Regions from separate parts of the Homo sapiens genome. Here regions 2, 3 and 4 are each linked to region 1. Evidence: promoter capture Hi-C in 16 types of primary human blood cells and fetal thymus (Javierre and others, 2016). All regions are on one chromosome and are shown on one strand. Each heading gives the region's core, a stretch centred on a gene start or on the middle of the fragment in contact. The rest is flanking DNA. Distances are from core to core; before and after follow the strand shown. Region 1 holds the start of TLE4 (TLE family member 4, transcriptional corepressor). Region 2 holds the start of OSTF1 (osteoclast stimulating factor 1). Region 3 has its middle 96 kb from the start of RASEF. Region 4 holds the start of GCNT1 (glucosaminyl (N-acetyl) transferase 1).

Evidence for each region. The method cuts DNA at HindIII sites, captures the fragments that hold promoters and counts their contacts. A CHiCAGO score of 5 or more calls a contact.
Region 2: a fragment that was not itself captured here is called in contact with the fragment with the promoter of TLE4 in region 1 in 1 of 17 cell types (neutrophils); the score reaches 5.7 in neutrophils.
Region 3: a contact is called between a fragment that was not itself captured here and the fragment with the promoter of TLE4 in region 1, in 1 of 17 cell types (fetal thymus). The highest score is 8.1, in fetal thymus.
Region 4: a contact is called between a fragment that was not itself captured here and the fragment with the promoter of TLE4 in region 1, in 1 of 17 cell types (neutrophils). The highest score is 5.5, in neutrophils.

What each region holds. Positions count from the first base shown.
Region 1 is chr9:79,569,491-79,576,374 of GRCh38, forward strand. TLE4 (TLE family member 4, transcriptional corepressor) reads left to right here and starts at 2,475. Exons shown (of 20, transcript NM_007005.6): 1 at 2,475-3,345; 2 at 4,199-4,296; 3 at 5,383-5,446; 4 at 6,643-6,687. The coding sequence starts at 3,301. RefSeq lists silencers at 947-996, 2,907-3,026, 3,087-3,246, 3,357-3,826, 3,847-4,086 and enhancers at 2,357-2,486, 2,497-2,546, 2,587-2,676, 3,404-4,016. The HindIII fragment of the contact is 12,449 bases long and covers 1-6,884 here.
Region 2 is chr9:75,088,053-75,092,745 of GRCh38, forward strand. OSTF1 (osteoclast stimulating factor 1) reads left to right here and starts at 462. Exons shown (of 10, transcript NM_012383.5): 1 at 462-674. The coding sequence starts at 641. NMRK1 (nicotinamide riboside kinase 1) reads right to left here and starts at 103. Exons shown (of 9, transcript NM_017881.3): 1 at 1-103. RefSeq lists silencers at 1-572, 763-852. The HindIII fragment of the contact is 2,112 bases long and covers 2,388-4,499 here.
Region 3 is chr9:82,963,684-82,970,567 of GRCh38, forward strand. No RefSeq gene overlaps it. Among named protein-coding and RNA genes, the nearest start is that of RASEF, 96 kb to the right of the region's middle. The HindIII fragment of the contact is 5,454 bases long and covers 129-5,582 here.
Region 4 is chr9:76,456,204-76,463,087 of GRCh38, forward strand. GCNT1 (glucosaminyl (N-acetyl) transferase 1) reads left to right here and starts at 2,979. Exons shown (of 4, transcript NM_001490.5): 1 at 2,979-3,102; 2 at 3,857-3,974. RefSeq lists silencers at 2,764-3,303, 4,294-4,363 and an enhancer at 3,914-4,023. The HindIII fragment of the contact is 6,561 bases long and covers 1-6,464 here.

The DNA of each region.
Region 1 (6,884 bases), core at 1,225-3,724:
GAGAATCGCTTGAACCCAGGAGGCGGAGGTTGCGGTGAGCCGAGATCGTGCCATTGCACTCCAGCCTGGGCAACAAGAGCGAAACTCTGTCTCAAAAAAAAAAAAAAAAAAAAAAAAAAGTGTGTGCCTGCAGTCCCAACAACACTGGAGGCTCAGGCAGGAGGATAGCTTGAGCTTCAGAGTTTGAGGCCAGCCTAGGCAACACAGGAAGACCCCCATCAATACAATAAATAAATAGAAACAGACAAAATTAATTTTACTAATATTTTTAATTGAGTTATTCAAAATATCACAATTTTGACATAATTATAAATTATTGAGCTGCAGTTTTTTCACATTAATTTTTTCAAAATGCCACATATATGTGTACTTACAGCACATCTCATTTTGAATTGGACACATTTCAAGTGCTTAACAGTCACATGTGGCTAGGTATGGAACAGCAGAGGTTCAGAAAACTGTCAAAAGGACTTCTCTGTCCTCTTATTTTGGGGATGGAGGCGAAAATATTTGCCGAATTGAAACATTCTGTGAACTTTGGCTCTGGGTTTTTAGTATGAAATTAGAGGCAGGTGAAGACCACCATAGCCTTCCTTTGCACCAGCTCACTACAGTGGCCAGAACGGAAGGAGGTTCACAGAACGTGCTAGGTTGGACATTAAGTCACCGAGTCATCCACTGAGGAAAGGGATATCATTAAGAAGAATAGTTTTCCACTAACGCCGAACCGGCGGCACCATCTCAACCAACAGGTCAAGTTACAGTAGGCAAGCACGCATAGAAATAAACGTCTAAAACCCAGCCTGTTACATTAGCCAACACTCTTCTTGACTTTTTCCGAATTTTTTCCCTGTCCCCAAGATTAGCCGCTCGCTAGAAAAGACTGCGAGCCTCAGCAGCCTCCCCTTGAACTGGGGCGCTGCCTCCAGCTGGACACGGACTAAGGATGGAAAGGCGCACTGACGGAGGCCGCCCCCATTTCCCAGGCCCCTCCCTAGGGGTGCCCCTCCTCAGCCATGGCTGCCCCTTTCTCTCCTCCTCCAGCATCTGCCCCTGGGGCCACCCCCACCTTTCCGCCATCTCTCGGGCCCGCGTGGCACCCTGCTCTGTTTTTAACGGGGATAAACTTGACTTGCTTCTCCAAAGAGCGGGAAAAAGAGGCGCAGTCTTGGTACTGATCTGGGGGAGGGAACGTCCCAGGGCGCGCAGGGGCGTTTTCTACCCGTGCCCCGTCGGCCTGCTCTGTTCAGTACCGACCGTGTTCGGGGTTCACGTGGCCCAGTCGGCAAAGTTTCTTTGGAGGTCCAGCGTCTCTGATTCCCGGATCTTCAGCCCCACCCGGAGCCCCCACGGTTACTGCCCCCCGCGACCCCCGATGGAGCGTCGGGATGCGCTTTCTCTCCGAGTGCCTCCGGGGGTGGAGGGAGGGAGGCCTGTTTCGGAACTAAATGGCAATCACAGCCCCCGCGGGGCTTGGAGGGACGAGCTCCCCGCCCACCCCGCGGCCCCGGCCCCAGCCAGCATCTCGCGACTCCATTTCTGGCTCTAAACAAGAACGGGGACCGAGTCGCGTTCACACGGAAAATTATGCCGGCTCCAGCGGCGCGTAAAATTGATGTGAACCGAACGAAGTAAGATCAGCGTGATCCTCCCCCTCTTGTCTCAACAGGGGTTTCGGCGCGTTACACAAGGCCGAGCTTGTCTCTTTAAGGAGACATTGGACCCTAATTAGTCCGCATTCCTGGCGCGGCTGCGGAGCGAGGGGCCGAAGGTGTCTGGGTTGGGAGACGGGTGGGCGGGAGGACGAGACTCGGAAGAAGATCTTTTGACCAGCCCCCAGGCTCACCGCTCCCTCCACCCTCTTTATTTTGCCGCCACCACCACCACCACCACCAACACCTAATTCTGAAGATGCAGCCAGGGCAGCAGCAACAGCAGCAGCCGCCGATTCTCCCAGCCCCACGTTACTTTGATTGACAGCTGAACAAATGTTTTCCCGGTTCGAACGCTCGCGCTAAGGAACGTCAGCCAAGGCGAAGCTCCGCCTTGGGCGGGCCATCTCCGCCCCGCCTCCGCCAACCTCATTCCTCTTCGTTAATTGGTCGGAGCTACAGGCGACGCCCGGCCCCCACGTGGGTTTCAGCTGGGTTGGCTCCTCCCCGCTGGCTTGCCATTTGTCAGCAGTGAAATGATGGGCACTAACACAGAACGGCGATTAATGTTCAGCCACCTCTGATTGGTTGGTGGAGACGCCTACCGCAACGGGGGTGGGCGGGGCGCTTGGAGAGCTCGCCAGAGCGCTCGCATGGCGGGCCGGTGATTGTAGTCAATCTGGCCGTATTCTCAGGCAGGGTCGCCCGGGGCGGACTACATCTCCCGGGATGCTGCGCGGCCGCCCCGCGGAAGATTGTGAATATGTATCAGAATGTTAATGATTAGCTGCTGCTAAATTTGGTCAAAGAAGTCACCTACACAGAGCGTGTTGTTAGAGCTGTGCTGAGCGGGTGTTTGGGTTGTTGGCTGCTTTCTTCCCCCTTTCTCACACACTTGTATATTATTTTGAGGTGGTGTTCGCAGAGTTTGAAAGGAGAGAGAATTAAAAAAAAAAGCCGCAAGCGTTTCACTCTTTTATTTTTATAATCCCCTTCAATTTGGGGTTAAAAAAAAGACAAGAAAACAGGAAGGAAGAGAAATAAGGAAATGAGATGTGGTAAAAGAAGCTAAAAGGTGCCTTTTAAAAGATCGTTGCTGTGAAGTGAAAAAAATCTCCAGAGAAACCAAAAAGCACCGCCGAGACCTCTTCCGAACCAAAGGAGTTTGTGTTTGCTTTTAGGGAAGAAGAAAGATCATTCATTCGGAGGAATAACAACCAATTAAAAGACAAATAAAAAAAGTTTGGAGTGGGACGCAGAGCGAGCGAGAGGAGCTGCCGGCGGGCGGTGGGGCGCGGAGCCCGCACTTTCCCGGCCGGGTGAGCGGCGGCCGCGGCGCCGGGCTCGGCGGGTGCGCCTCGGCGGAGCGAACGTCGGAGCGTTGCCTTGGGAGACGCGCGCCGGACAATGCCCGCGGCGGGCCAGTGACGCCCGCGGGGAATGCGGAGCGGCCCGGCAGCCGGCACCCAGCCGCCGCCGCGCGTTCCTGCCGCCCGTGTCACGCGAGACCCGGCGGGGGCCGGGACCGCCCGAGCCGCCCCTCAGACCGAGCCGGCCGCCTCCGCTGCCGCGGCCGCCTCCTCTTCGGGGTCATTAAAGCCAATGAGCCGCGCGCCTCTGCCGAGCGCAGCCAACTAAATCGGCTTGGATGATTCGCGACCTGAGCAAGATGTACCCGCAGACCAGACACCCAGTGAGTGCGGGCGGCGGGGCGCGGGCTCGCCGGGTGCTGGGGGATTCCCCGCGTCGCCCCCTGCGCACCGAGTTGTGTCTTTTGGCCGGAGGGGCGTGGAGAGCCGCCCGAAATCGGCGCCCCGCGCCGGGAGCAGCCCGCCCGCCATCACCCCCACCCCCCGGCGCGGTGGCCCTCGGAGGGGGTGCGGAGAGGCAATTGAGTTGTAGCCATTTTCTTATTGTTGTCTTTGAAGCCCCTGGAAGCCGCGCCGAGCCGTTTGCGGTCCCCGCGCCGCGACTCCTCGAGGGGGGGTGGCGAGCGATGAAGGAGGCGCGACTCCGCGCCCGGGCGGGGAGGGCGCCCTCGGCAGCGGCGCTGCTGGGCTGGCTGCGGTTTGGAAGTGCGGGGCGCCGGCCCCTCGCGCCGCGGGCCGCCGGGGCGAGCGGGCGAACGAACGAGCCGAGAGGGTGGCGGCCGCCTCCCTCCTCCCCCGGCCTGACCGCAGCCCGACGCCATGGCGCGGGTCCCCCCGACGGGCCAGTTTCGATTCCGGGTGAGGAGGGAGTGGGCGCGGCGCGCGGGTCCCTGGGTGCCTGTCTTTGGCCGGGGAGGGGAGACGGGACTCGAACCCTCGGGGTCCGGGGCGCGGGGGCCTGCGGGCGGGAGTATGCGGGGCCCCAGGACCACCTCGAAACCAGCCTCTGCCTGGGCTGTTGGGCGCGAGGAGGGTTGCGGGAGGAGAGTTTTAATCTCTCTTTGCTTGCGTGCGCGATGACCCTCACCCCCCGCTAACGCCGCATAGTAGGTTTTCTCCGTCTCCCTGCTTCGCCTGTGATGTGGGCTAATTAAATATTTTATTGTTGTTCTTCAGGCACCGCATCAGCCTGCTCAACCCTTTAAATTTACAATTTCCGAATCCTGTGATCGGATTAAGGAAGAGTTTCAGTTTTTACAGGCTCAATACCACAGGTAACGATATTGACTTTAGCTGATCCTTCTGTTTGCTTAGCTCTTGTCTCCCCGACAAATACACACAAACACTTACCCTCCTCCTTTTTTGTGGGGGCGTCACAAAGGTATTATTTTTTTTTCTCGGTGGGCAGAAAGGGCAAATCAAGGCCTCCTTCCTTAGGCAGGTGTAAATAAATTAAACATTTCTTCTACCGTAAATAAAAAGAAGGCAGAACAATCGAAACTGGGGAGACTTGGAAAACGCTGAGGCCAAACTTTCGATATTGATTTATTGGGGCCGGGAGAATGAAAGGTTGGGAAGATTCTGGGGCCTTTTGACATCCTTGGTTCTTTATTACTCCGGACTTGATTCCTTCTCACTTTTTTCTGCCATTCCACTGAAGAGCTGAGAGCCCAGGGAAGTCGGAGTGAGCGATTTCATTACTTTTATGCTAAAAAAAAAAAAAATGTTTTCATCTTATAGACGATTTTTAGACTTAGGGTGCCTTTGAGACATTTTTCTTTAGCTGGCTTTTTAATGATGCCTAATTCTTATTTCATAAATGCAAGAACCAAAACAAACCACTGAACCCGATTGACACTTTGCCCCTGGGTGGTGGTATTCAACTTGTCTGTGTGTTTTGGAGGGAAAAAAACAAGATATCATTCATAAGACATGCTTGATTCATATTTTCATTAATCTCTTTGTAGAACATTAAAGAAATTCCCTTGTGACGTTTTGGAGGACTTATTTGTGCTTGTATGTGCAGTCATTATTGAAGTTTATTTTCGTGTTTGTTTTATTAAGTGAATATTCAATTCTGGAGGAAGTTCCTGAATTAAACTGATTAGAGGATTTGTTTCCTTAAAACTTAATTAAAAAAAAAATCCTAAAAACAAAAAACCACATATATGATCCTTATTGAAGGGGCAAGTCCAGACTGGTTCCAATCACCCCTTTCCCCTTCCCTTTCCATAATGATGGGGGTATTTATTTAAGATTGTTGATTTAGTTGTTTGTAGGTGAGATTTAGAATATGCGTTTAAGAGTTGAAGGATGTAAGTTAAGATCATTGTACTTAGAGTATCTTATGTCTTGAACAGTCTGAAGCTGGAATGTGAGAAACTCGCCAGTGAGAAGACAGAGATGCAGCGGCATTATGTCATGGTAAGAAAACCATGTCACAGATTCAAAGTGCCTATTAGTTTGGAATACCAAAAACAAGAATATGTTTAAATTGCTGGGGGCTGCAAGATAGATCACAGTCACCCTGCCAGTGCAGTTGAAGTTGTGGGAATATGTCTATTAGCAACCTGTAATTCTAGGCTGTTATAACTTGCCTTTGACAACTGGCTTTGATTGGAATTTTCAGAAAGTTCAGCCACATGGGGTATAATTTTCTGTGCTTTGTTTTTACAGATCGAAAAAAAATAAAAACAAAACCTTGTTTGTTTTGTCACAAGCAAAAATGTTTTTGTGTTAGTGGCTTTCTTTGTTGTTTTATTGCTCTTGCTCCAAACAATTTTTGCCAGTTTTTCTGTATGCTGTTAACATTGTAAATGTCTTATTATTAAAGACATTATTAAAAAATAATGTTTTATTTCTTTGAAAAGGAGTGATGGATAAGGAAAGACAGCAGACCATTTTTCAAATTTTTTTCTCTTTATGTTACTATTACATTAATATTTGTATGTTTTCAATTTCTGTAGTGTTATATTGGTTTGAGGAATGTTGTAGTCTCCTGTATAACTGATGTGTTCTGCCAGAATTTCTATGCCAGTTATACTACACGTTCAAAAAACCAGATCTGCTTTTACAGAAGTATTATGAAGCATATTTTTATGATTGTCCAAGAAAGCTCCAGAATAACCCACTCATTTATTTTTCTATCTAGCTTTTTTGCTTTGAATGTGTGAATATGAGCAGTACACTAACAAATCAGAAATCAAACTCTAAGTAGCATCACCTTTTCCAACCTTCCTTTCAAAACATCAGCGTTTGTATAAGGCATTCTTTGCTGTTAACTTGCCTGCTGTGCTTAGGAATTAAGAGTCCGTAGGATACCAAATTTTCATCAGACTTTTTTGATGCATCTGCTTGGGATGTATAAAGAAACTGGAGATGTTAAGAATGCTGTGTTTGAATTTAATTTTTCTTAGTTTTGTGTGTTTTCTCTTAGAATTTGTGTCTTAAGGTGGTTAAAGATAGTGATGGGCTCTTGATTTATTGGCATAGGTTATATGAAGATACTGGTTTAGGTGAGGCTTTTATGTTTGTTTCAGATTTACTTGGGGCATTTTGAACAAACTAGGGAGATTGTTTGATGAAAGTCATGCATTTAATTGCTTTTCCTTCTTTGACAGTATTATGAAATGTCCTATGGGTTGAATATAGAAATGCACAAGCAGGTAAGTTATTTCTTTATAACCATTTTAAATGACAGTAATACTGGGACACTATGAAAAGAAAATTGTATGTTTTGCAGTTTTATTCTGCAAGCCGTTGTGGCTACCTGTATTTAAAAGTCTGGGTAGTGAAGAAAATGCTGTTTTTTCATGTGTGGCTCCCCATCTTTCTTTCATATTATCCTAATTTTTATAATTTA
Region 2 (4,693 bases), core at 2,194-4,693, 4.5 Mb before region 1:
GCCAAGCGCGCGCCTGTACCCAGTGCGCCGCTACCCGCAGCTCGCTCCCCGAGAGGCCCACAGCCCCTTTCCCCACGCTCCTCCTGGGTTAGAGGGATGCCAGGTAGGGGCGGTCACCAGAGGCCCCTTTTCTCTACTCTCGGCGCCGGGTTCCAGCCCCCGTTGGGGCGGGGCGGGGCGGGGCGGGGCTCCGGCTAGCTTGGCCTCTTCCGCGCGCCCCTGCGCAGCTCCGGCCCTTCCCTATCGGGAGCGCGCGCGGCCCGCGGCACTGCACTGGCGCACGCCCGCTTCGCCCTCGCTCGGCTCCGGCTGGTTCCGCCGCCGTGCGCGCCGCCCGCGCTCCTGCTGCGGCGAAGCTGCCAGCCCGGGAGCCAATTAGCGCTCGGCTAGGCGGGGTCCACTTCCTCGTCGGCCCGGCGCGCGCTCTGGACTGCTCCGGCGGCCGCGGGGCGGGGCGGAGCACTCGGCGGAGCCGCTCTGCCTGCGTCCGCTCTTCCCGCAGCCAAGGGTGGGCGCCGGTCCTAGGAGGCGCACGGTTGTAAGCCAGACAAAAAGAACTGGGGTGCCCGGAGTGCCAGGTGGCGGGCAAGCGGTGGGCTTTTCGGCGGGGTCTTTAGGATTTGCAGCTCCAGGAAGCGAGATGTCGAAGCCGCCACCCAAACCAGTCAAACCAGGTGAGGGAGGTAAGGTAGGCGCTTGCCAGGTCCTGCGACCGCCGCGGTGCCGGCGCCTCCTCTGCAGCTTGGCAGGGAGGACCCGGCGCGCACCCGGCCCCGAGCCTGGCTTCCGAGATCGGCCCCACCGGGATGGGCGCTCTTAGTTTTGCGTTCGCTGTTACGGAGGAGGGATCGATTTTGATAGCAAGAGGATTTCGAGGATTAATATATATATATATATTTAAAGGGGAGTAGCCCTCACTTTTGCTACGTTGTCATTCGCTGAAACTTTCAGAGGGTGTGATGGCAACGTCCCATGGAAGTTTTCCGGAAAGACAGGGCCATTGATCTCCCTTTAAAAAATGTCATGAAATGATCTTTAGCCACTTCCTCTTTTCTCAGTGTTTGTCACTGTCAAGTTAGGGTTCCTGACCGGCCAGAGCGAACGGGAAGTGCAATCCCTGCAGGGTGGGGTGGGCGAGCGAGCCTCCCTCGGGACTTAAGCGTGGAGCAGCGTTTGAAATTGACCTCGGGATCTTGGGAAGAGCGTTTAGAAAAAAACCCTATACTCGCGCTCCTGGTGGAAAGAATCTAGGATGCGGCAGTGATCTCAGCTGTTGCTATTTGGAAGTGTCATTTTATCATCTCCTTTGCCTTTGCTCTCCCAAAGACGTTGGCGTGCTAAACCTGAGAGGGCTGAGATTACTAAATTCCTCAAAGCAGTTTTCTGGGCGGATTGTCCTTGTTCATTTTTGCTCTGTTCTTAGAATATTTTCTGTGATATGCAGAAATAAGATAATTGTAAAAGAAACTGACGTATTTTAATTAAAAGTTGTAACATACTGTTCCGCTCATTCATTTGGGTAGGTAATTAGAAAGGACTGACGTATTTCAATACTTTAACAACTCTTACGTGCATTCATTTGGGTAGGTAATTAAGGGAAATACAGGAAATGGAAGATAAATGGCTCCGATGTATTCTTGGGTTTTTTCTTCCCATAGTGTAATTTCGGTATAGCGAAATGCTGAAATTTAATCCATTTACGTCAAATTTTGAAGTAACTTTCTTTGCAAGAGATGAGTTTCAGTGATTACTTTTTTCCTTGATTTTCCTAAACTCTATAGCTTTCATACTTATCTAGTTTTGTTTCTTTGCGTTCCTGCAGTTGGAGTATGAAGTCCCTTTATTTGATAATCATGTACGTACGTATGTGGAATAGTGCTTCACTGAGGACTGACATCTTGGTGGGCTGAGTGTGAAGGAAGTTGCTGAGACTGGCTCTGCCCTGGGCAAAGATGGGGCACAGCTAGAGTTGGGTTCTGCATTGCATTAGATGTGGAATCTGATGAGAAATTTCCATTTTAAGTGCATATGTATGAGGTAGCTTTCTAAACTCAGGTGCAAATCAGGACCTTAAGTATCTAACAGTGCAGAGTTGTTCTTTGATAGCTAAACAATATTTTATTTATCTTATTTTTTTCTGATCACCTGCTGCCAGTTGAAATACGTTAAAGAATGCCCTTTTTAAAAATCTCTTCATGCGTATTAAATGCTGTCTATATTGCAAATGGAGGGACATTGACAGGTGTGTGTGTGTGTGTGTGTGTGTGTGTGTGTGTGTACACAGTAATGTATACATGTGGGTTCATTCACACTTGGGGGTTTAAGGGTCATCCTGTTACTAATTGTGGATACATTCCCAGGAACCTCCTTTCTCCTTCACATCAGAAAGCTTATGGTTAAACATGACAGGTGTTTAGAGGGAACTTTGCATTTTATTTTATTTTAATTTGTTTTATCTGGTCCTTGATTCAGGATAAAGGGAATTTTGAATCAACATTAATTTACAAATGAGATCCAGACACAAAGTTACCATAGAAATGGGTTTGCCAGTTTAGTAATTTACAGTGAGAAACATTACTGCCAATCAGAGTTGAAACTTTGTGTGGGCTAGCTTAGTTGAAGAAAAAAAAAAAGCGATGGCCAGGAGCAGTGGGCCATGCCTGTAATCCTAGCACTTTATGAGGCTGAGGTGGGAGGATTGCTTGAGGCTAGGAGTTTGAGACTAGCCTGGGCAACATAGCAAGACCCCGTCTCAACAGAGTACAAAAAACAAAAACAGAAATGTCCTATCGTAGTACTGTCCCACATTTACTGTGTGTTAGGCAATGGTATAGTCACTTTACACGTGTTAACACATTTGCTGCTCTCAACAATCTTATGAGATCAGTACCATTATATTGTTCCTGTTGCACAGATGGGGAAATAAAGATGCGCAGAAATGTTATTTAACTTGTCTAAAGTCAACAGTTAGAGTGGGGGATGTAGCAGGCAGTATTAAAACCCAGGTAGTCTGGCTTTGAAGTCTGCACTTTTTTTTTTTTTTTTTTTTTTGAGACAGACTCTCGCTCTGTTGCCCAGGCTGGAGTGCAGTGGCGCGATCTCGGCTCACTGCAACCTCCGCCTCTCGGGATCAAGCAATTCTCTGCCTCAGCCTCCCGAGCAGCTGGGATTACAGGCAGCCCGCCACCATGCCCGGCTAATTTTTTTTTTGTATTTTTAGTAGAGACAGGATCCAGGCTGGTCTTGAACTCCTGACCTTGTGATCCACCCTCCTTCGCTTCCCAAAGTGTGGGATCACTGTGCCTGGCCAAAGTCTGCACTCTTAACCATTTGCTATTCTGCCTTAAGTCATAGTGCTCCATTCACACTGGCGGTCAAATGTGTATTTTAGAGCTGGTGGTCAGGAAGTCGAAAGGGAGGGGCCTCTGGTCTACAGACTTTCTTGTCACAAATGCACATAAAGGTCAGCCCCTGGTTGACAGCAAGGAGAGTGGTGTGGAGCTTTACTTTCTTGTCCTGCAGGCAAGCTGCATGGATAAAAATCTCCAAAGACAGCATGGGATTGGGGGCTTTGGGGTTGTATTTAATTTTTTGGTTTGTTTAAACCTTGCCTCATTCCAAAAGGACTTCTAAAAATACACATGATCTGAGAGAGAGGAAAAAGTAAAGATAAAGCATGGTCATCTAGAGGAAGGGAAGAATAGTAAGATGAAACAAGAGGAAAAGCTAGCTTACAGACAGACCTGCATGTGTAGTAAGGTCACTGTAGATTTGGCTCTCAGCTGCAAGCAGAGAGAAAAATCTCAAGATTCATAGTGCTCATAAAATTAAAATGTGTCACTTACTCTGAAAAGTAGTTATTTTAATGGCATTGAGATCTGAGACAGATTTTCCTGTGGGTTCTCTTAAAGTATTGGAGTGGCCTGGATATCTCTAGCAGAAATACAAGACAGAACATCCTAGCCATGTTTCTTACAGCTTCTTTCAGAGCAAGATTTGGGCAAAACAGCATGGCTCAATTCAGTAGACAATACTAAAAGGAAAGGAGCTAGGTGAGTAAGGACAAAGGACTTGCTGGAAGATATTAAAAACAAGGGACATTAAGCTATAATGCAGGCTAATAGCATCTTTCTGGCTGATCAGCACATCCCCAACAGGGGGCCGATTTGTGGAAGGAGGCTGCCCAGGGAAGTCCCGGGCAGATGCTAGTGGGAGACCCTGGCCATTTTTGTACCATCTGGAGGATAGATCAGGGTTACCTTGTTTGGGTTTTTGGCCATATCCAGAATTCATTTGCTAAACAAATGTTTCTTAATAAATGTAGCTCATATATTAGGCCCTGTGCTAGACACTGGGGTTCCCAGGAACAATAATCTATGGTGTCATTCACGAGGGTCCTGAGTCTAATGGGGAAGACGTATGTATCTACAGATATTACCTAGAGTATCCCATATTTACAAGTGGATGGCTGATCTCATTCATTTTGTTTTTTTTAAAAAAGCTTGTAAGTAAAAATATAATTTTTTTATTTTTAGAAAATTTAGAAAAAGGTAAACAATAAATATATAACTAAAATATAGGAATCATCCCTGTCATCTACTGATAATCACTATTTACATTTGGTTGAATATTCTTTCAGGTTTCTTTCTTCTTCACATCCATTTCATTTCAAAAAAGAAAATAAAAACAATTA
Region 3 (6,884 bases), core at 1,606-4,105, 3.4 Mb after region 1:
CCAGCATTCCTGTATACTTCCTCCTCCTAGTCTTGGGCAAAGGTGACTTTTCTGAGGTCAATTAGGGTACCAGGTCTGAGGTAGGTGTTCGATAAATATTTGAATAGAATCAATGGAGGCGTTTCCAAAGCTTAATCAGGCCAGAGGCATTTTTCAATATTGATGGGGTCCCTGGCAGTACTTCTAACCTCATCCTGGGTCCCAGGTGGTTGAAGACAGAAAGTGGTCAATTGGCCAAAGGCATTCATTGTTCCTCCCAAGGTGCCCTCTGAGAGAATTGAAACCCTGAAAATACTCAATAATAAGAATTACTGATTCAAAAAAAAATCAGCCAAGGGAAATAAGGCTCATCTGCAAATGTCATTAAACTGAATGCCTCTTTGTTGTACCTTGTAGATCCTTCTAGCTAGTGAGGGTGAAAGGGAGGTCCTATCAATCCTCACAGCTGCCACTGTTCATACAACATATTGAGTTGGCAATAGCTTTAATTATTGTCTCATGCTATCAGGATATATTAAAATCTAAATTATCCATTGGGTTGGAGAAAAGGAAAATGGAGGAATATGAAATTTGGAGGTATACTCTTAATACTAATCCCTTGGGACTGTAGCTTGTGTTCCTCTCATTCAGAAGTATTGACTGAATGACTGAAAAAAGAACCAACAGATCAACCAATGAGGAAACAAGTAAATGAAGAAACCAAGATGTCCCCGACCAATCAAAGGTAAAATGTTGCCATAGGCAGCTCTGCTTGTACCTCTATGCAATGGACAAACAAGGAGACCATTTTCTCCTTGTACATAGGCAGTGTCTGGAGCCAGGATGTATATGCTAACTAGTGACCTAGCTGGCCTGATCAGGAGTGGGCAGCTCCAGCAAGCCTAACTCCACAGAGCCAGAGAGCATTCATAACCTCGTGTCCAGGAGAGAGTGCCAGCCGATAGAAGCCAGAAGTGTGCTTCTGCAATGAATCATCAGGATAAAGGAGGTTGGTGGTAGGTATTGGAAATCAAGAGAAAGAGCCAAGGTGAAGATCCAAGAGGTTAGAGAGCCACAGAAGGTTAGCCAAGCAGATTAGAGTAGGTGGGCAGGAGGACAGCCTGTGCCAGCACCGGAGACCACAAGTATTTTGCATGGCTGGGCTTTCTTTTGGCTTTGTGTTTATTTTTTTAAATGGGTAATACATATACATGGAGCCAATCTCAGAAGGTTCCAAAAGGGATACCAAGCAGTAGTCGCATTCTCACTCTTGTCTTCCAATTCCCCAGTTCTCCTCTCCTGAATTTCTTCTGTATCCTTCCATAGATAGCCCATGCATAAGTAAGCATATGTGTATCCACAACCTTTATACCACAAACCATATCATAGTATACATATCAGTCTGTAGCTTTCTTTTTCACTTGACAATACATCTTAGACATGGTTCCAGAGCAGTATATGTAAAGCTGGTTCATTCTTCCCTGAGGCCTTATAATACTCCATTGTATAGGTGTACCATAATATATTTAACTAATTTTTAAATGAATATGTAGGTTGTGTTCCAATAACGCTGCAATGATAAGGCATTTTGGATATGTGTAGACATATCTGTGAAAGTGAAGCTGCTGGGTTACAGAATATGTGCACCTTAAATTGTGATAGATATTGCCAAGTCACCCCCTGAATGGGTGATATCAGTTAATACTCCAAACTATGCATGTGCCTGTTTCTCCCAAATACTTCCCAACAAAATTTACTATCAAACTTTTTGCAATTGCCAAGTTAATCAGTAGGAAAAGTGATATATCATTATGGTTTTAATATGCATTTTTCTTATAATGTATGATATTGACAAACTTCTTATGATAAAAATTGACACAGATGTAAATTTATTAGGACCCATTTGAGAGGCCTCCAATCAAAGGGGCCAATCAATATTCTGGGAACCAACCAAGAGACCTGGGTTTGAAGTTTGAGATACGGTCTCACTGATGAAGCACCTACAATGTGCAGATATATTTGCTCCTCAGGTAGAATTTTGCTGTTCCACAATGCTGTTATTTATCAGAAACAACCCTGATTAAATGATTTTTCTAAAGCTACCTTTCTGATAAGGGGAAGAGCTATATCCATGTCCCAGTCAACTGGACTCCACACCCTGTGCTTTTTCCGAGTCCTAGTTTTACTAACTGCTACCTTGGAACCAAAAGCCCAGTAGATCTGGGATCAGAAAACCTGGGTATGTACATCAGTCTGCTACTCACAGGCCATGTGACCTTGAGTAAATAACTTAACCTCTTTGGTGGGGTCTCAGTTTTCTCAACTAATTTATCAAAAAAACTGTAGTTGTTACCTCAAAGTCCTTTCAGGTCTCAGACTTTTAAGACTTTGTAATATGGCAAAAATTCTGATGTCTAATGGGTAAAAGAAAAGCAAGCGTCCTGGATTATCCAAATGCATCATCTCCCCATCTCCTAAAAATTGAGAGCTGATATATTTAAACACCTCATTTAGAAAATGACTGCCACCTTAAGCTCCTTCCTAGACACCACCAGCACTGTGAAGGAGGCACTTTTCTGCTTTTGTTCATCTCTTTAGAACTGTTCCTCAATCACTCTTTTTTCTTTTCTCTTTTTTTGCTTTTTCCCATTACCCATGTACAGAGTCACCTTAGGCTAAGGAAACACAACTGAAGAGAAACTAATTTTCTTCTAGACTACGGTTCATCTGAGTGTCGTTTCTTTGTTTTTAACATTTTGAAGCGGTCTGCAGCCTCCTCTCCAAAGTAAGGACAGGCTGGTGAGAGGAAGCGGAGACAGAGCTTCCCAATGGCCCAAGGATCCCAGGTGAGCAAATCCCTTTAGAGAATAAAGTTGTCATGCTCTTTAATGGTGAGATTCTTTAAGAAGAAAAAACAAATCTCTGCAAATTGTTGCTCACATTTGTATCACTCCTTGACCTAAGTAGCACATACTTCACTTCATTTGGTGTTCATTTAGTGTTCTATGCAGAGAATGGGGAAAACAGCCTGGCAAATAACTAGAAAGAACATCCACTCTGATCATCGGCCAGGTGTCAAGCAATGTGCAAAGCACTTAACTTTCTTTACTTTTTAATCTAAATAGTCTTTAATATAGATAAGATAGATATGGAAACTAAAACTCAAGATATGTTTGTAAGTTGCCCAGGGTCACAGAATTAGGAAGTGGCAGAAGTGGAATTCAAGGCCAGGTCTGTTAGATTCCTAAGCCCATCTGTATACAATATTGGGTACAATGACCTCTGTTCCAACTCAGCAATTCCTAGGTCTTAAAAGTCATCTAGACATGAATTCTCAAGGGGGGGTGATATTGTCCCCAAGAGGGGAGAATTGTTTCTCGGGGGGGAGGGTGAGAGGAACCTTACTTTTTAAATGTATAAAACACAGCTATGTGCACAGTTCATAAACATATATGTAATATATCTGTGGCATTAACATTTCCTGGGCAGAGGACAATTAGGAAAATATGCCTAAAAAGACTTTTTTGTGGGAAAAAGTTTTAAAACTTGAGAAACACTGATCTAGACATATCCCTGATGCAGCTCTTGGGTGCCTCATGCTGTGTCATGTTGCCTCCTGTTTGTCTACTTGTCTCTTTCCATCAGACATATAAACCTCTTCAGAATTGAGGACTGCTAAATTTGACATTACCAATCGGTGGGCAGCTACTTTTAAAATTGCAGCCACTCCTAGTTATTTTACAAAGAAGAGGTTGGAAAGCATTCAGATTGGGCTCTATCAAGGTGTGAGCCCACCTCCAAGTGTCCACTAGGCTGAAGCGGGCTGGCCACCACCATCTGATTGGGTTCCAACCATCTCCTCATCCTGCTCTTGCTGCTCCTTGCTCTTCCGCTCTCCCCAGACTTCCACTCTCCTTACTCCATCTTCTTTTTCATCTCCTCTAAAGTTCATAAAGGAAATGGTCTGACCTTGAATTTAGAGGATGAGATCCACCTGAGTACGTTCACTGGCACAAAAGGTGAGGCCACTGTGGTTCCCCACCTCCCTTCACCAGCTCAGCTCTCCTGTGTAAAATAAGATCTGGGGAAATGACTACACCTTAATTCAGCCCAACCTGAATATGTAAAGTACACGAAAGAAGCCGGGAAGTGTGGATGCTGAAGAAATAGCGTATGATCCAGGGCTCTAAGGAGCTTATGCTCTCTGCACCCCGTTTTTCCCTAAACGTACGTTCAGACAGAACTTTCTTACCTTTTCCTGATTTCTTCAGTTTTCTTCATCTCGGTTAAGGATCCCAAAGCAACTCAGAACAGAACCCTAAATATTTTCGTAATTCCTTAAATAATTAAAAAAGTGGCCTTCAGTTCTCCGATGCCAATCTCAATTTCTACCTACTGGAAACTGTAAAGATTTTTAACATTTCCTTTCCTTGCAGTTTTTCCTGCAATCAGTTTCCTCATTGAAAGTGTAACAGGTGTATATAGCCATGGAGGCCACCTGCCCTTGACTGCTGTTCTGAAAGTGGAGACACCTGTGGGTAAAGTGGAGCGATCACAAAAGCTCTTAATGTTACTGCTAGACTGTGAGATCCTAGAGGGCAGCAGCTGTGTCTTGTTCATCTGTTTGGTCCTCTCCTCCCTACTACACACACACACACACACACACACACACACACACACACACACACACACACACACACACACACACTTGAAGCAACAGAAATTGATCCTCTCCCAGTTCTGTAAATCAGAAGTTTAAAATCAAGGTGTTGGCAGGGCCAGGCTTCCCTGAAGGCTCCAGGGGAGAATCCGTTCGATCCCTTTCTCTTGGCTGTTGGTGTTACTGGCAGCCCTTGGCATTCCTTGTCTTGAAGACACATCACTCCAGTCTGTCACATGGTGTCCTCCCTGTGTGTGCCTCTACATGTTTTTCCCTCTTTATGTATGGACACCAGTCACATAGTGTTAGGGCCCACCCTAGTCAAATATGACCTCATTGTATTTTGAGGACATCTTCAAAACCCTTGCTTCCAAATTAGGTCGTATTCACTGCTACTGGAATTTAGGTTTTGGCATATATTTTAGGAAATATAATTCAATTTGCAACAGTGCCTTAATGAAAAAATGAGTAAATAAGTACATACTTCACAGAAGAAAGGAGAAAAACAGGGAAGGAGGGAGGGAAGGAGGGAAAGAAGGAAGAAAGGAAGGAAGAAGGGAGGGAGGGAGGGAAGGAAGGAAGGCAATTTTTCATAATATTTAAAATATTCTATAAAGAAAAAAATAACCATCTCAGCTAAGTTTCCTGAGTTGATGTTCTGATGAGTCATTATGTGATTTGTATTCCTTTGTAAAACTGTCTCACATGAACAAGTCTTTCCCCCTAAGTCTAGTGATTAATTTCCTATCTTTATGCGTATTAGGGTTCTTTTTAAAAAGAAAATTACCTGATAGTCAGTGCTGTGCATTAATGCCATTAGGAGCTTAGGTTAGGATCTTGTTTACTTGTTTGTTAATGAGGGAAATAATTTTATTTCTATGCTTAAGAGAATCACTAGTAATCAAGTCATATGCATCTAGTTCTTCTTCCCTTTCTGACTTGAAGCTTAGCCCCACGTCCCTCTGTACCCACCAAAAAGAAAGAAAAAAATACAAAGAAGGAAGGATGGAAGAATGGAAGGAAGGAAAAAGAGAGAAAAAACAAAACAAAAAAAGAAAGAGTGGAGGAAAGCAACCCCACACTGTCGGTTCTTGTTGCTGCAAAGCAAGAGGAAGTGTGGCGTCTTGAACTATCAGTCTGAAGACAGGAGGCCTGGGTCCTGGGTCCAGTTCTGAAACCACAATGACAACCACAGGCTACCCCTGATTACCAGCTACTTCACCAATTAAAACAAGTGTGTGCGTAATCTCCAAACTCATTCTCAGCACTAGTGCTTGATAACTGCTCATGGACTGAATCTATGGAGATGACAAAGTTTCTCCCCGTCTCTGCTCCCACCACTGCCCACTAAATTAGGAAATCAAGAATTAGTTCTTAGAACTGCAGAGCTTCCAATAGCCAAGACTAATGGGGAAAAAGACCCTATAGAAACTATAGTCTTTCTAAAACAAGAACGGCAAGAGTCCTGATCCAGCCCAAGGAAAAGACCATTGAGACGGTCACCTTGAATTTGAAACATAACATTAGCCACCTTACAGTGTCATCCCCTCCTTCCAAGCGCTTCAGCCTGGTGAGTTCAGACAGTAGAAAGGGAGGATGTTTCCTGGGTTTTTTTTAAAAACACACATTATAATCATTAAGTCATGAGGTATTTTCTTCTCCAAGAGCATTATGACTTAAAAGTCTGGGTGATCTATTTTTTGTTTATCTTTTATTTTTATTTATTTATTTTTTAAATTTTATTTTAAGTTCCGGGATACTGTGCAGGATATGCAAGTTTGTTACATAGGTAACTGTGTGCCATGGTGGTTTGCTGCAACTATCAACCCATCACCTAGGTATTAAGCACTGCATGCATTAGCTATTTGTCCTAATGCTCTCCCCACAACTCCACCACCTCCCGACAGGCCTGGTCGTGTGTTTTTTCCCTCCCTGTGTCCATGTGTTCTCATTGTTCAGCTCCCACTTATGACAGAGAGCATGCAGTGTTTGGTTTTCTGTTCTTGTGTTAGTTTGCTGAGGATGATGGCTTCCAGCTTCATCCATGGCCCTGCAAAGGACATGATCTCATTCTTTTTCATGGCTGGGTGATCTTTAAGACATGCATTGGCTGAGGCAGGGTACTGTAGTGCAAAGATTCTACCAGACCTAGGTTTGAGTCCCAGCTCTGTCATGTTAGCCCTTAATTAACTTTGCTAAGCCACTCGACCCGGCTAAGCCTGTTTCTTTATCTGTTAAAACAGGA
Region 4 (6,884 bases), core at 1,934-4,433, 3.1 Mb before region 1:
GCTACTTTATAGCTGCTTACTGTTCCTGTCCATGTTACCAAGCAATGGCTCTTCTCCCTGGCTGCAGCAACAGCTGGTTCCAGTTTCTTAGATTTGTTTGTTTGTTTTAATCCACCCTCTCCCATCCAGCCTCAATATTTACCTTCAGAGATAAAAGCACCAGCTGGGTACCGCCCCCTCCTTTGAGGTCTGACTCCCAGCCAACCAGGGGCCCTCTCCTGGCTGTTAGGTTCTGATAACCCCAACACTTCCCCTCTCCCCAGCTCTGTGCATGGCAGCTGCTTCCTGCAGTTACTCTCTCTCTGTTACTACAATGTTTTTGCCTTGCCAATCTTCATGACCTTAAATTCTCTGTAAAAGTAATTGCTGTGATTTCTGTTTTCTGACTGGGCCCTGACTGATACACCCCTAAGCATTCCAGAAATACCTTCTAAACTACTTGTATAGATTTATGGGTGTATGTTATTGCAGGCATTAAAAATAAGTGGGCTGGGCAAGGTGGCTCACACCTGTAATCCCAGCATTATGGGAGACTGAGGTGGGTGGATCGCTTGAGCGTGGGAGTTCAAACCCAGCCTGGGCAACATGGTGAAACCCTATCTCTACAAAAAATACCAAAAAATTACCGGGCATGGTGGCACACACCTGTAGTCCCAGCTACTTGGGAGGTTGAGGTGAGAGAATCACCTGAGCAGGGGTAAGTTGAGGCTGCAGTGAGCTGTGATTGCGCCACTGTGCTCCAGCCTGAGTAACAGAGTGAGACCCTGTCACATACACAAACAAAATGGATTACACTTATGGTATACAGGCAGTATCCAACTGACAAACAAGATATATTCCAAAAGTTAATTCATAAATCTATTGCTTGGCCACCACCCCTGGTTAATTTATCTATTTTTATTTTGTAGAGGTGAGGTCTGGCTATGCTGCCCAGGCTGATCTCAAACTCCCAGGCTCAAGTGATACTTGTACCTCGGCTTCCTAAAGTGTTGGAATTACAAGCGTGAGCCATTGCAAACAGCCAGCTATATTTTATTTTTAATTAATTAATTTATTTATTTTTGAGATGGAGCCTTGCTTTGTCACGCAGGCCAGAGTGCAGTGGCACGATCTCAGCTCACTGCAACCTCCACCTCCCGGGTTCAAGCGATTCTCATGCCTCAGCCTCCTGAGTAGCTGGGACTGCAGGCACACGCCACCGCAGCTGGCTAATTTTTGTATTTTTAGTAGAGACGGGGTTTTGGTATGTTGGCCAGGCTGGACTCAAACTCCTGACTTCAGGTGATCCACCCACCTCGGCCTCCCAAAGTGCTGGAATTACAGGCATGAGCCACTGTGCCCAGCCCCGGCTATACTTTAAACTTATGTTTAGCAATTAACATGTCAGTATTTTAACTTACAAATGACTCAGACATTTAATGAATATCTATTACTTAATTTAATATGTTCGAAATTTCAAGTCACCAAAAAAGATTTTTAAAACTATTTTTAAGTAGACAAATTTTATAAAACAAATTATTTTTAAAAGTTTATAAACTTTTATTCCATTTACATTTACCTAATCTACTTGCTCTTAACAATTATGCTTGAATTGCTCATGAAAAATTTCATGAGATATTAAACAAAGCTAGCCATTGAAGGAGTTCAGGAGTTTTTCCCAAAATCATTTCCTCTCCCCTAAATTGTCCCTCCCCAATGAAGAGGATACACAAGCTCCTAAAATCTCAGTTTTTGTTGGGGGAGGCAGAGGGAATATTAGTTTTTCTTTTCTGTGATACCCCCTACACGAAATCTGTGTACTTTTTCTCTTGTTAATCTACCTGCAGTCAATTTATTTCATAGACTTAGTTATCCAAGCCTCAGAGAGTAGAGGGGAAGTCTTTCTTCCTCTATACCATCATCTTATGTTAATTTTTGTTGACAAATCAGGCAAGTGTCAAACATATCACAGTCTAATGGCCTCTGAGTTGGATTTTTTTTTTTTTTTTTTTTTTTTTGAGATGGAGTCTCGCTCTGTTGCCCAGGCTGGAGTGCAGTGACACGATCTCGGCTCACTGCAAGCTCCGCCTCCCGGGTTCACGCCATTCTCCTGACTCAGCCTCCCGAGTAGCTGGGACTACAGGCGCCCGCCACCACGCCTGGCTAATTTTTTGTATATTTAGTAGAGACGCGGTTTCACCATGTTAGCCAGGATGGTCTCGATCTCCTGACCTGGTGATCCGCCCGCCTCGGCCTCCCAAAGTGCTGGGATTACAGGCGTGAGCCACCGCGCCCGGCCAGAATTTTTTTTAAACAACATGGAAACAAATAAGACCTCGTTCTGTTTTCTAGGAGCTAAAAATCCAACGAAAGAAGACACAGACACAATATTCCCCTTGTTACAAAGAGAACTGTGTCAACTTTTATAACTGACACAAAGATCTGTGCTATAAGGGCGGGGAAGGTTTTTTCCTACTTTCCACAGCACTGTGGATTGTTCCACAGTTTAATTTGATCTTAATTTTTATGTGGAAATACACATGAATGTAATGAGTTCTTAAATGCTAAATTTAGGAAGCAAGGTTCGTTAGGGGAGAGAAAAAAACACCTACATGGTTATCTCTAAACTTTACATATCGAGAACCTTGGAATTTAATTTTATTGTTGTTCTGTAACATATTTTCATGTTTAAAATCAGAAAAGGCAGCATTTCTCGAGTTTCCTGCTTTCGAGGAAGGGAGGCATAAAATGTTTAAAAAGACGCCGCTCACACACCTCTTAAGAATCAGAGCACAGTGAGGAAGAGGAGCGAGGAAGCACTAGGATCGCAGCGCTACTCCCAGACCACGTCAGTGCCCAGAGGGCGCCCTCGCCTGTAGGCGGGAACCGCGAGTCCGCAGCAAGTCCCCAGCCCCGAGCTCGCGCAGGTGGGCGAGGCGGGGACGTGGTGGGCGGGGCCTAGAAAGGCGGGGCCTCTGGGGGCGGCCCCGGGGCGGGCCACGCTGGTGTGAGGGCTGCAGGCGCAGCTCCGGAGCGCCTAGAGCGCGGCGCGGGGCGGGAGCTTGGTGGAGCAGGAGCGGCTGGGCATCCTCCTGAGACTCCGGGGTCAGACGCCCACTCCAGGTAACCGGCTCTCCCTCGTGTTCCCCTGCTCGGCCGCCCGGCGGTGGGGGAAGGCTGAGAAGGATGGGTGGGAGGGAGCCGGCTCTCAGCCAGTGCCCCGTGGCCCCGGGCGGGCTGGGCTCCCCCGCGGAGGAGGAAGCAGAACCGGGGTGCGCCCGGGACCGGAATGGAGCGGCGCCTCTTCCTTCCACCTTCATTTTCCGTCCGCTCAGTGGGGCTGGGACGCCGGTGCCCCGTGTCCCCTGAAAGTCACTTTCTGGCCTCTTGCCCCTGGTCCGTGTAGCTTAGATGTCGGAGGGGTTGGCTGCGGGCGTGGATAGGCAGGGAACGAACAGACTCGCTGCCATCCCATGGGTGCCAGGGGCTTAACTTCATTTAACTTCATTGAATCCTAACGCCAGCCCGGCTAAGATGCATTTTCACCCCTACTTTACTGATAAAGAGGCCAACGCTAGGATAATAAATGACTCACCCTGGAGCAAACTATTACTAATAAGAAAAGAGACGTTAGTTTAGGGGCTCCGAAGCCTCTCCTTTCCTGCTCCCTCGCTTTCCTTCTTCTCGCGGCAGTCTAGGAAACTCGCGCGCAGGGTCTATTACGAAAACAAGTGATTCGTCTTAAAAGCATTTTACCCCCTCCTAGGTTTCTCTTTCCTCTTTTTTTTAAGTATCTCAGGCAGATTCCTCCAAGTTTTGGTTATTAGGTTTTTGAAATGGAAGAAGCCCTTGCTCACTGCTTCTTTTCTCCTGGCAGCGCTTTCTGCGCAGCACAGGCACCCTCGCCTGTCACGCCTCCCTCTCCTCTTCCCGTCTCCCAGCGTGGATGAGGGCGCCTGCAGATCCCGGCTAGGGCACGGACCGCCTAGGCCGAGGTAGGTTCTGTAGGCACCTGGCATGCTGTAGATGCATATAAACGTTGCCCTGTACACCCTTTGCCTTGTTATTTCTTTCTGCAGAAAAGAGAGTCGGTTTTTTACACATAATGGGGCAAGAGGCCAATTGGGAAGATATATGGTGTTCAAAGAAAGCCGTGGTGCCTTGAGATGAGAATGCGGCCACAGCTTTTTGTGGGCTGAATTTGATGGGTGGGAGGTGAGAGACGTGGTCTGGAAGTTGTCTCTTCGTCTGGCATTCTGCCCCCCTTCCAGAGCTGTTCTGAAAGGCCGGTTTGTTTTATAGAGGGGAGGAGGAGGGCTTAGTAGTTTTTAAAGATCAGTGTAAATTACCTGCTAGGAGCTTAGGCAATTCCAGGCAGGCCCCCCTGCTGGAGGCTTTCGTAACAGATTTCAGTTCTAGCAGGGAGGAAAACTCAGACTGTGTAGATACCTGCTTTTTCTTAAAGGAATTTTTTTCGGGCCCTTAAAATGGTAGTTTTGGGAAACTGATTTCTTAGAAATGGCAAACTCCTTTATTTTAAAATACAATATACCAAACTATGAATTTACTTTTAAAAAGTTTTATTGGCCGAGAGGTTGATATTTTTTCCATTTCATGATGAGGGTTTGACGGTCACTGCCACCTCCTCTGCCCGTCCTTCAACTTGGCCCTGTAAAGGATCTCCTTAGCCTTGGCCCCAAGTTTGTACTAGATTCTATCCTTCATTAATTATAGTTCATTCTTGATTAATGATAGCAATGCTTCCACTCACTTTTTAAGGAGTTACTCCTTTTCCGTTTGTAATTGAATTGCTTAACAGTAAGAAAAACGTTTTTCCCTAAAACTGGGATCACAAAATCCACTTTATCCACATGGACTAAACAGGTAATGCACAAGAGTGCTTGGTTGGGCCCAGGTGACTGCAGAGGAACCTGCTAAGGCTGGGTGGATATTGGCCATTTCCACCGAGTATCCATGCAGGAATTCCCATTCAGCCATACAGTGTAGGCAGCTTTTTTTTTTTTTTTTTTTTTCCACGAATAGCTGAGAACTTTTACTTAAAAATAAAAAATGTAAAGCCTGATTTTAAATATTGGCTCATATTTTTTCCTTTTTAGAACACAAAGAGGGCCGGGCGCAGTGGCTCACACCTGTAATCCCGGCACTTTGGGAGGCCCAGGCGGGTGGATCACGAGGTCAGGAGTTCAAGACCAGCCTGGCCAAGATGGTGTCTCTACTAAAAATTCAAAAATTAGCTGGGCGTGGTGGCTAGGCGCCTGTAATCCCAGCTACTCGGGAGGCTGAGACGGAGAATTGCTTGAACCCGGGAGGCGGAGGTTGCAGTGAGCCGAGATTGCACCACTGCACTCCAGCCTGGGTGACAGAGCGAGAGTCTGTCTCAAAAAAAAAAACACACACAAAGAGCCTGGGCATGGTGGCTCACACCTGTAATCCCAACATTTTGGGAGGCTGAGGCAGGTGGATCACTTGAGGTCAGGAGTTCAAGACCAGCCTGACCAACATGGCAAAACCCCATCTCTACAAAAATATTCAAAAATTAGCCAGGTGTGGTGGTGGGCACCTGTAATCCTAGCTACTCAGGAGGCTGAGGCAGGATAATTGCTTGAACCCGGGAGGCGGAGGTTAGGATGAGCAGGGATCGTGCCACTGCACTCAAGCCTGGACGACAGAGTGAAGCTCCGTCTCAAAACAAAAATCCCACAAAGAATAAAATCAAATTTGTTTCATGCATCATCTGTTTGCAAAACTCTGCCTTAAAAACTGCTACTGTACACGGTGATTATATTCTCCGATGAATGGAAAATTCTGAACTGTGATGTAGATATTGTACATTTTTCATGAAATGAAGTGGTAGAAAACAGAAATTACTACTGGAAATGATCCCTTCTGACTGTCAAATTCTGTTTTCTATGAAGTGTGTGGTATTTCAGCTATACTGTATTTTTTTTTTTTTTATAGAGCCAACCAAGGACTCTTGTCACTATTTTTATTTATTCTAATGAGAAATGTATTCATGGTTCCAGGTCAGTATGTCAAATGTCTAACTCCCTGTCTTAAAAAGGGAGTTCCCAAATGACTGTTCATATAACCATATGTGTTTCTTGTGGAGACTGTCTGTATTCTTGGCTTTGTCACTGGATTTGTGGCTTAGTGCTGTCACGTTTCCTATCTGAGGCAAATGCCATATATGTTTAGACCAGCCTTTCTCAATTGTGGCACTTTTGCCATTTTTGGCCAGTTAAATTCTGTTGTGGGGGCTGTCCTGTGCATTGCAGGATGTTTAGCAGCATCTCTGGCCTCTACCTACTAAATGCCAGTGCACCCTCCCTGCAGTTAAATGACCCCAAATGTCTCCAGACATAGGCAAATGTTCCCCGGAGAACAAAGTCATCTTTGGTTGAGGAACAAAATGAACCTATATTTAAGATGGTCTAAATGTTTCTGAGATGGTCTAAACATTTATAAGCTTAACAATTAACTTGAAACTCTTCAGGACTAGAGAAGCTATTTGTAAATTTAAACATCTGACGCCTTGAAACACCTTTATCATAAAGATAACTAAACCAGTGTTCTTTGTGAATGGCCAATGTGTCCTGCCAGTTTCTTTTTTTTTCTTTTTCCTATTCTGAGAAGCATGCCCTGCCAGTTTCTATCTCCAAAGAAATTTCAAGCGTTCAGTGTATTTGTTAAATTTCATAAAGTTTAAAAAGTTGAAAATGAAAAAGGAATTCTACGGTAGTTTTAAGTAGAATTTAGTTTTAAGAAAAATTAACCTCTTTTTAGCTAACAGCAATAAAACGAAGACTGCTGTGTATTTCTGTAATCTGAAAAATCTCGACTTTCTCAAAGGGAGCGCTACATAATGTATGATATAATTTATATCA